3 separate regions of the Homo sapiens genome follow, and regions 2 and 3 are each linked to region 1. The links are contacts of gene promoters, found by promoter capture Hi-C in blood cells and fetal thymus (Javierre and others, 2016). All regions are on one chromosome and are shown on one strand. The core of a region is centred on a gene start or on the middle of the fragment in contact, and the rest is flanking DNA. Distances in the headings are between cores, read along the strand shown.

The links. The method cuts DNA at HindIII sites, captures the fragments that hold promoters and counts their contacts. A CHiCAGO score of 5 or more calls a contact.
Region 2: a contact is called between a fragment that was not itself captured here and the fragment with the promoter of CELF6 in region 1, in 3 of 17 cell types (M1 macrophages, M0 macrophages and monocytes). The highest score is 5.8, in M1 macrophages.
Region 3: a fragment that was not itself captured here is called in contact with the fragment with the promoter of CELF6 in region 1 in 1 of 17 cell types (neutrophils); the score reaches 7.4 in neutrophils.

The regions. Positions count from the first base shown.
Region 1 is chr15:72,318,632-72,321,560 of GRCh38, forward strand. CELF6 (CUGBP Elav-like family member 6) reads right to left here and starts at 1,526. Exons shown (of 13, transcript NM_052840.5): 1 at 982-1,526. The coding sequence starts at 1,243. RefSeq lists silencers at 1,213-1,552, 1,613-1,662. The HindIII fragment of the contact is 9,541 bases long and covers 1-2,929 here.
Region 2 is chr15:72,601,704-72,604,713 of GRCh38, forward strand. It overlaps ARIH1 (ariadne RBR E3 ubiquitin protein ligase 1), which reads left to right. Exons shown (of 14, transcript NM_005744.5): 14 at 1-1,284. It also overlaps the pseudogene LOC100420930. Among named protein-coding and RNA genes, the nearest start is that of MIR630, 16 kb to the left of the region's middle. The HindIII fragment of the contact is 646 bases long and covers 1,362-2,007 here.
Region 3 is chr15:72,696,596-72,699,565 of GRCh38, forward strand. The region is part of intron 2 of BBS4 (Bardet-Biedl syndrome 4); the gene reads left to right. Among named protein-coding and RNA genes, the nearest start is that of BBS4, 12 kb to the left of the region's middle. The HindIII fragment of the contact is 7,034 bases long and covers 1-2,970 here.

The sequences.
Region 1 (2,929 bases), core at 276-2,775:
GAAAGGGGTGTGGCCGAACAGGACCGTGTATCTCTCTAGAAAGGGCAGGGAGAAGATCTCCTTCTGTCTCTTCAGCCTGACTCACCCTGAGAATGGGCCTGGACTGGGACCAGCCTGTGAGGGGAGGGAAAGAAAGAGGCCATAAAGAGGACTGGGGAGGAGCAAAGAAGAGGCACAGGAGTGAGGGGATTAGAGAAGGAAAGAAGTGTGGATTTAGCTGAGAGAAATCCAAGAAGAAAGGGACACAGGGTGGCAGGAGTTCCCAGCTGAGGTCAGGGTTCTGAACTGAAATCAAAAGAGGTAGAGTGCATTGGGATTCTGGCGAAGGGCAGGAGAGATTGGGGCTGTTGTTGAACATGAGGGGGTGTCTGGAACTGAGAGCCTCCTGGGAATTGAATTGGATTTTGTGTTAGACAGGTCTGGGTTCTGAAGAAGGGGAGGGTTTGGGTCTGCGGTGTTTTAGGTTGGCAGTCTGAGAGTCAAAAGAAGGCTCTTGAGGGGGATGGCCGGACTAGGAGGCCAGAGGAGGGGTGCAAGTCCAAGATATGCATGTGGGTGGTTAGGCCTGAGTGAGGTGCCACCAGATGGAGGATTCAGGAGTGTTTGGGCTCAGGGTTTGGGAAATTGAGGGTATTCGAGATCTAGAAGGTGGAATAAGTTTTCAAATTCCAGAATTTTAGGTCTGATGGGAGAGGTGGTGGAAAGGTCCAATTGAAAGGCAGGGACTGCTGGGATGTGAGAGGTGGAGGCCAGGAATTTGGAGGTTAGAGTGGAGAACATGTTAGGGGACCACAGTGATAATCAGAGGGAGGATGTCAGAGAGAAAATTCTGTGATCTGGGAAGGGGGCTGGGCTGAGGTGGGGCTGATATTGGACTGGTGTTGGACTGGCTCTCGGCAGGGCTAGGGCTGGGGCTGGGCTGGGGTCGGGCCACACTCTAATCGGATTGGGGCTGGGCTGGGCTGGGCTGACCCCGCGCACCTTTGTGGAGGCCGGTGAGCCGGTCCTTCAGCACCGTCAGCTCGTAGATGCGGCCGAACTCCTCGAACAGCGGCTTGAGGTCCTGCTCGTCCAAGCCCCGCGGGATCTGCCCCACGAAGAGCTTGATGGCGTCGTGGTCCTTCATGGGTACGGCGGGACCGGGGTTTAGCCCGCTCATGCCGACGCCGCTGTCCGCGGTGCTGAAACCCAGGCGCGGGCCGGGGCCAGCGGGCTGCGCTGACCCTCCCGGCGCCGCGGCCATGTCCCCGCCCTGTCAGCCCTCCCGCCGGTCCCACTGGTCCCGCCTGTCCCGCCGTCCCCTCCCTGGACCGGTGGCGAGGGCCAGGGGGAGGGGGCGGAGCCCGGGCGGAGAGGGCGGGGGGCTGCCCAGGGGGCGGGGTCCGGGTGGAGGGGCGTAGAGGGGGTGGGGCGGGCAGGAAAGGGGCGGGGCCGGGGCGGGGCGGGCCCGGGCCGAGGTGGCGGCTGAACGCTGGGGTCTGGCTTGAGGTCCCCGTGCGGCTCTCTCTGGGCTCCCGCCCGAGCTCTCCCAGAGCCGAGCCCCGAGCCCCAGCCCCCGTGCTTGGTGACGTCAGGCAGCTGGCCGCCGAGTCTACGCAAATGATTTGCATAATGAGGAAGCAGCCGCCAATCAGAGTGGGAGTTGACTGGGCTCGCCGGGGGCGGGGGGGGCGGCTGGGCTCACGCGCTCCTGCTCGCCATGGCAACCGGACCCTCGAATGCCCTGTGTGTGTCGAGTGTGTGCGGGCGTGGCCGTGGATCGCGCGTGTGCGCCTTGGGCCGCGTGAGGGGAAGCAGCTTCGTCATGCGTGATGGTGTCTGCCGGAGTCGGGGCTAATCCCCACCGCACACACAGGCACACACAGGCAAACGCAGGCACACGCAGGCACACACACCTCCAAACGCTGGTGCGTTTCCTGCGGGGGTGGATGGGGATTCCTCTTCTCTATTCCCACTATCGAGCCAGTCCCTCGGAGCCAATCCCACCCCGCCCCATCACACATCTCTGTCTTCGGTGTCTTTAACCACTTTCTTACCCCTGAGCCTCAGACACATTCGTCTCCCTTGCAGCCTTAAAAAGAAAGGAAGAATAAAATAAAAACCCCTTAAACACTCCTTGAACACGGATTCCTCCTTAGGAGAGTGAGGGAACTTAGCCGTATTTACTCAGAACCCATTATGCACCAGGTGCCCAGTTCATCCCAGTTCTGTGAACTCAGGAGTGTTCTCTTTTTCCGGAAAAGGAAGCTGAGGTTCTGAGGGTCGAGGATGTTAGGGCCAGGCCCACCCCAACATTTGTTGGGCCCAGCGCAAAATAAGAAATGGAAATCGACATACTGTGCATCTAAACATTTAAAAGATACAAATCAAATTACAATTTGTTAAATATGTTCCCCTCTTATTTTCACAAATACAGGTTCAGAATTACGAAAATGAAAGACATATGTACAGCTACGCTTTCTATATGACTGAAAGTTGGCAAAATATCAGAGCTGATGGAATTTTATTACTCCTGCACATGTCTAGGTATTCTCTTGATGGATCAGTGATGTTTGCACAAAGTAGTAATACAATGTTTGGACAAAGACACATACTTCATAAATTATATATTTATTCCATAATATATTTTTCATGCCTCTTTCAGTAAAATTGCTAATTATTTTAATAGAGATTTCCTTTTTTTTTTTTTGATAGGTTATCATTCTGTCACCCAGGCTGTAGTGCAGTGGTGCGATCTAAGATCACTGCAGCCTCAACCTCCTGGGTTCAAGCGATCCTCCCACCTAAGCCTCCCAAGTAGCTGGGATGACAGGTGCACGCTACCATGCCTGGATAATTTTTTTTCTTTTTTTTTTTTTGTAGAGATGGTGGTTTCACCATTCTGCCCAGGCTTGTCTAGAACACTCCTGAGCTCAAGTGATCCACCCAC
Region 2 (3,010 bases), core at 435-2,934, 280 kb after region 1:
CTTGGTATGTTGTGCTTTTCACTTTCTTAGTCGCTATTATTGGAGTAGGTAATACATCCATATAGTACAAAATTCAAAATGTATTAAAGGTATAGAGTAAAAAGTCTTCTCTTCCCTGTCCCCCCGCTACCCAGTTCTCCTCTTTAGAACCACTTTTAGCATTTTGAATATCCTTCCAGAAATATTTTCTAAGTATACAAGCAATTATGTATATAATATTCCTCTTTATTTTTGCCTTTTTATTAATACAGATACTATATGCATTTTCTGCACTTTATCTGTTAATAATATATCTTGGCAATTATTCAATATTAATATGTAAATAGTTGCCTCTTTCTTTTTCATGCGCCATATAATATGGACTTATAATTTATTTAACCTCTATCTAGGTTGGTTTTAGGCATTGGTTATTACAAATAATGCTGCATTGAATACCTTTGTATGTAAAGTCATTTCCCACATCTATGCCTATAGAATAAATTACTAGAATTGAAATAATTCAGTTAAAGATTATGTGCATTTTTAATTTTGGTAGTTATTGCCAAACTGCTCTCAATGGAAGTTTTATGAATTCCCACTAGTGAATGCATTTGTCCTCACAATTATGTCAGTGAAATTTTTGTTCTTTGCCAATGCAAGAAATGGAAAGTATCTCTTGGAAACTAATTTGCATGTTTTTTTTCCTTGCACAGTTATATTTTCATATGTTAAAGAGCCATTTGTATTTCTTGGTGAATTGTTCATAAACTTTGCTTACTTATTATCTAATGTCTGACTAATTTGCTACACTCTAAATTCCCAATTCATACTTAAGTCTCGCCCTTGCAATTTAGATGTACAATCTGCCTCTTCAGTGGTTTCCACACCAAAAAATCCACAGGCTCCTGAATTTTATATGGGCCTAAGAGTCTTACTGAAAATTGGAAGTCTTAAGGTGTAGTCTATTTTATGCAGTGTGAGGCCTTTCATGCTCTGAAATGTACCACTCTTGACTGACTTTTTCTTCTTCACCCTGTCCGGCACTGTGCCCTTATTAGCCAGAGAAATGTTCCCCCTTTCTCCCAGGAAACGTTCTGACCTTACCCTGGTCCCTCAAGGACTCTCCTTCTCCCCCAAATTAACTTTCAAGGAGTTTCTCCAACCCAAAATGGCACCCTTCCTGAAAAGATTTCTAGTGGATACTGTTTTCTGTACCTCACTACGGATGTATTTTGCTGCTTGGCTCCCCGTCTCCATTTTGCTATGGCAAACATTTTTTTCCAGAAATATATCAGATAAAATGAACATGTGGTCCCTTTTGTTGATTTTTGTTGGGATCCATGGTATTGATTTCTTCTAGTTTAGATAATTCCACCGTGGCAAGCTTTTATTCCTAGCATAGCGCTCATGAGGAGAATGTTAGTCACTTGGTGTTATTAATGCTAAAATAGTAAACAAGAACACAAAATTTGCTAGATTAGAAGTGGATTTTTTTTCCAGGCTGGGCACAGTGGCTCATGCCTGTAATCCCAGCAGTTTGGGAGGCTGAGGCAGGCAGATTGCTTTGAGCTCACGAATTCGAGACCAGCCTGGGCAACATGGAGAAACCCCGTCTGTACTGGGGCTAATTTTACCAAAAAAACTAGCCAGGTGTGGTGGCACACACCTGTGGTCCCAGCTACTGGGGAGGCTGAGGTGGAAGGATGGCTTGAGCCTGGGAGGCAGAGGTTGCAGTGAGCCTAGTTAGTGCCATTGCACTCCAGCCTGGGTGACATGTCTCAAAAAAAAAAAAAAAAAAAAAAGGTAAGGAATGAATTAACATGAATGAAAAAGGCATGATCTGCAGTCAGTCACCCATGGTCAAAGATAGCAGATACCAATTCATTCTCAGAGCGAAACGAAATCAGCCCAATGCTTTTGGCAAACTGTGGTTGCCTCCCTGTCATCATCATCTGGGCTCACTGTGGCTCGCCCTTCTGGCCTTGCTTCTGACCTTGCCATCTCTGGGGAGGCTTCTTTGCAAGCCCAAGCTTGGGCTCCCCTTCTCAGAACCATGTGCATACTTGTCCTGGAACTGTTTTTTTTTTTTTTTTTTTTTTTTTTTTTTTTTTTTTGCCTGTGCCTCTTGGAGGGCAGGGGCCATCTGGCACAAACCTGCATCCCCGCAGTTGCTAAATTAATGAACAAACAAATACCAAGTCTTTCACAATGTAACTTGAGAGTGGAGGTAGTGGTAGTGGCAACTCCATCTGGGGGATGAGAGAAGGTGGAGGCTGAGTTTTGGGGATGGCTTGCAACAGAAGAGGAGAGATTATTAGCAGCTAAAGGAGTGGCCAGGGTGAACACCAAGCATTTTCCTGACTGGGGAGCTGTGGGTTTGTTTATGGCTGGGTAAGGGGTGAAACCAGTGAGCAGGAGAGATAGCTAGTACTGGACTGGAGTGAAAGGCATCTGTAGAGGCAGGAGACAGGATGGGGAGGTAGAGGAGTTGGCCTAGGACAGGACAGCACTTATTTGAAGACTGGTGGGCAGGAGGAAAGGAAGGAGAGGGATTGAGAAATGACCTGGAGGTCCTCAGTCAGCTGGGAGAAGACCTGGAAGAGGGGGATTGGCTGCTGTTGGGATGGAGAGGAGGGCCAGGGGAGGCAGTGACTCACACGGAGGGAGGCTCGGGGATGGGGACTTTGGCAGTGGGGGGTGGGAAAGACATACTCGCAGGGGATCGGAAGGCCCCGTGGCAACTTTGTGTAAGTCCTGGTTCAGTCAAGGAGAGGAATCCGAGGGAAATGCCTGATTGGACCCATGGCCCACTCTGAGAGAAAGGGGTACTGTGGGTGTGCAGGAGGAAGAGCAGCTGGGAAGTAGGAGTGCCTAGGACTGGATCCAACTGGAAAGGGGGCAGATATGCTCCCAGGATCAGGGTAGGGACCCTCTAGGAAGGGGGCGTTCTGAGAGGGAGGTTGTGGGGAGCACTGTATGGGGGTCCTTGGAGGTGATTTCTGGGAAGGGGAAGTCTGGGGCAGGGCTGTGA
Region 3 (2,970 bases), core at 469-2,968, 380 kb after region 1:
CATACATTATTATTATTTTGAGAGAGAGGGTCTCGCTCTGTCACCCAAGCTAGAGTGCAGTGGTGTGATTATAGCTCACTGCAACCTGAAACTCCTGGGTTCAAATGGTTTTCCCCAGTAGCTGGGTCTACAGGTGCATGCCGCCATGCCTGGCTAATTTTTATGTATTTTTTTTGTAGAAATGGGGGTCTGGCTCTGTTGCCCAGGCTGGTTTTGAACTCCTGGCTTCAAGTGATACTCCATCTTCGGCCTCCTGAAGTACTGGCATTACAGGCATGAGCTATTGCACCTGGGTTATGTAAATTTTTCAGTGGCTTTTAAACCTCATATAATGTTTGTTTGTTGGTTTGTTTTTGAGGCGGAGGCTCGCTCTGTCACCCAGGCTGGAGTGCAGTGGTGCAGTCTCAGCTCACTGCAACCTCCACCTCCTGGGTTCAAGTGATTCTGCTGTCTCAGCCTCCCAAGTAGCTGGGATTATCGGCATGAACCACCATGCCTGGCTAATTTTTTTATTTTTAGTACAGATGGGGTTTCACCACGTTGGCCAGGCTGGTCTTGAACTCCTGACCTCAAGTGATCCACCTGCTTTGGCCCCCCAAAGTACTGGGATTACAGGCATGAGCCACTGCATCCAGCCCAATATAGGGAGGTATTAAGAAAAGAGAAGAACTATCATCCTTAAGTATTAACGGGACTTTAACAAATTAAAAAAGTAGTACTTTGAATAAAAAGCTGTCACATTTTACTGTGAAATCCTTAGACTTTTTTTATACCTCTAGTTCAGGTTTTTTCAGCTTTGGCATGAATGATATTTTGAGCAAGATAAATCTTTGTTGGAGTTGTCCTGTATATTGTAGGATGGTTAACAACATCCCTGGCTTCTACCTGGTAGATGACAGTAGCACTTAATTGTAACAACCAAAAGTGTCTCCAGATGTTGCCAGTTATTCCTTCTGGGGCAAAATTGTTCCCACTTGAGAACCACTGCTCTGGTTAAGTAGTGTAATACTTGGAAATAGAAGGCAGAAAGTTGGTAAGTGCATAAAGAATTCACACAGAAGTTGGATTAGCAAGCTGAGAGACGTTATTTGAACAAGTAGCAATTGGAGGCATTTTGACTGAGAATGGATGTTGTGCCTCTCCCTCACTCTTTCCTCCTCAGCTTGAGAGGTCCATATTCTCTCAAAGTTTGACTCTTTAGTTTTGAGGGTGATGACTGCCAACTGTGGAAGGGATAAACAGATTTCTGTTTGGTATTTTTGTCCAAATATATCAGGACTTTTTCAAGAACAGGCAATGAAATTATTGATCAGAACTACTTGGTGGTTCTGAGAAAATAATATGCTACATGAGGCTACTGAAGTCCTCTTCCTTTTGCCCCATGATGTAACCTTAGGTGACTTTCTTCTGGCTTTCAGTTGAAGATCTTACCCATCATTGAGGTGAGCGAACTGATTTACTGCTTGAGTCTATTTTCTTCCTTAAAGGAGTCTTCATTGAAAACTTTACCCATTTTGGGGTGGCCATAGCTGAGGATGAGTTTTGTCCACAACCTGAGACAACATACTCACTATGTAAAAAACCTGATCTCAGCTTGATATCTGGTTTTAGACTAATTGTTTAATAGAATAATTTATTATTGTAAAATATATATAAAATTTACCATTTTTAAGTGTGTAAGTCAGTGGCATTAAGTACATTTACAAAGTTGTGCAGCCATCACCACTGTCCATTTCTAGAAGTGTTTCATCATTCCAAACAGAAACACTGTACCCATTAAACAATAAATCTCCACATCCCCTTGCCTCCCCAGATCCTGGTAATCTCCATTCTATTTTCTGTATCTATGAATTTGACTATTCTAGGTTTTTCATGTAAGGTGAATCATACAATATTTGCCCTTTTCTGCCTGGCTTATTCCACTCAGCATTTTCAAGATTCATTCATGTTGTAGCATGTGTCAGAATTTCATTCCTTTTTAAGGCTGAATAATATTCTAGTGTATGTATATATCACATTTTGTTTATCTGTCTGTTGATGGGCATTTGGGTTGTTTTCCTTAGAGTCTTTATATGTCAGTAATTCTTAAAGAATTTAAAAGTTGTAGAAACTAGGAATTTTGTAGATATTCTAGAAATATGTCATTTCCTGTACTGTATATAATAATTTATTCTACAGACTAATTACTGTGTATATATTTGGTTCTCAGACGTGATTTTGATTTTGTAGATGCTGTACATGCTCTTCACTTCATTAATCTTTTCCTTTTGCTAATTTTGGTTCTTGTGTATACAGAATTATAGAGTTACAAGGTAATTTAGTTGTTACCTAATTCACCCTAAAGTCTACATGAAACCACTGTCACAGTCTTTGATAAGTAGTTACCAAATCTCACTATTTCTACTGTGATAGTGAATGACTTTCATTGATTAGCTTTCTGAAAGAATAGTTTATCTTACTTGTCTTGGTATCCTCACCTCTGAGTCTATTTGTCTATTGTAATCTGGCTTTTGCTCCACCGCTCCACTGATTAAATGGATGAGCTAAGCATTTTTTTTTTTTTCCACTGCAACCTCTGCCTCCCGGGTTCAAGTGATTCTCTTGCCTCAGCTTCCCGTGTAGCTGGTATTACAGGTGCCCACCACCATGCCTGGCTAATTTTTTGTCTTTTTAGTAGAAACGGGGTTTCACTATGTTGGCCAGACTGGTATCGAGCTCCTGACTTCATGATCCACCCCAAAGCCTCCCAAAGTTCTGGGATTACAGGTGTGAGCCACCGTGCTTGGCCCAATTCTGTTTAATTTTTGAGGAACAATGTTAACTTCTAATTTAAATGGAAGGTAGTATATATCTAATTTTTCCCTATTATTTTTAATTTCAATGCTAGTAAATCTTTAAATCTGAAATACACACTCTTGAATTTTGACAGATATGTATACTCATGTACATATTTATATTCCTGTAATCATC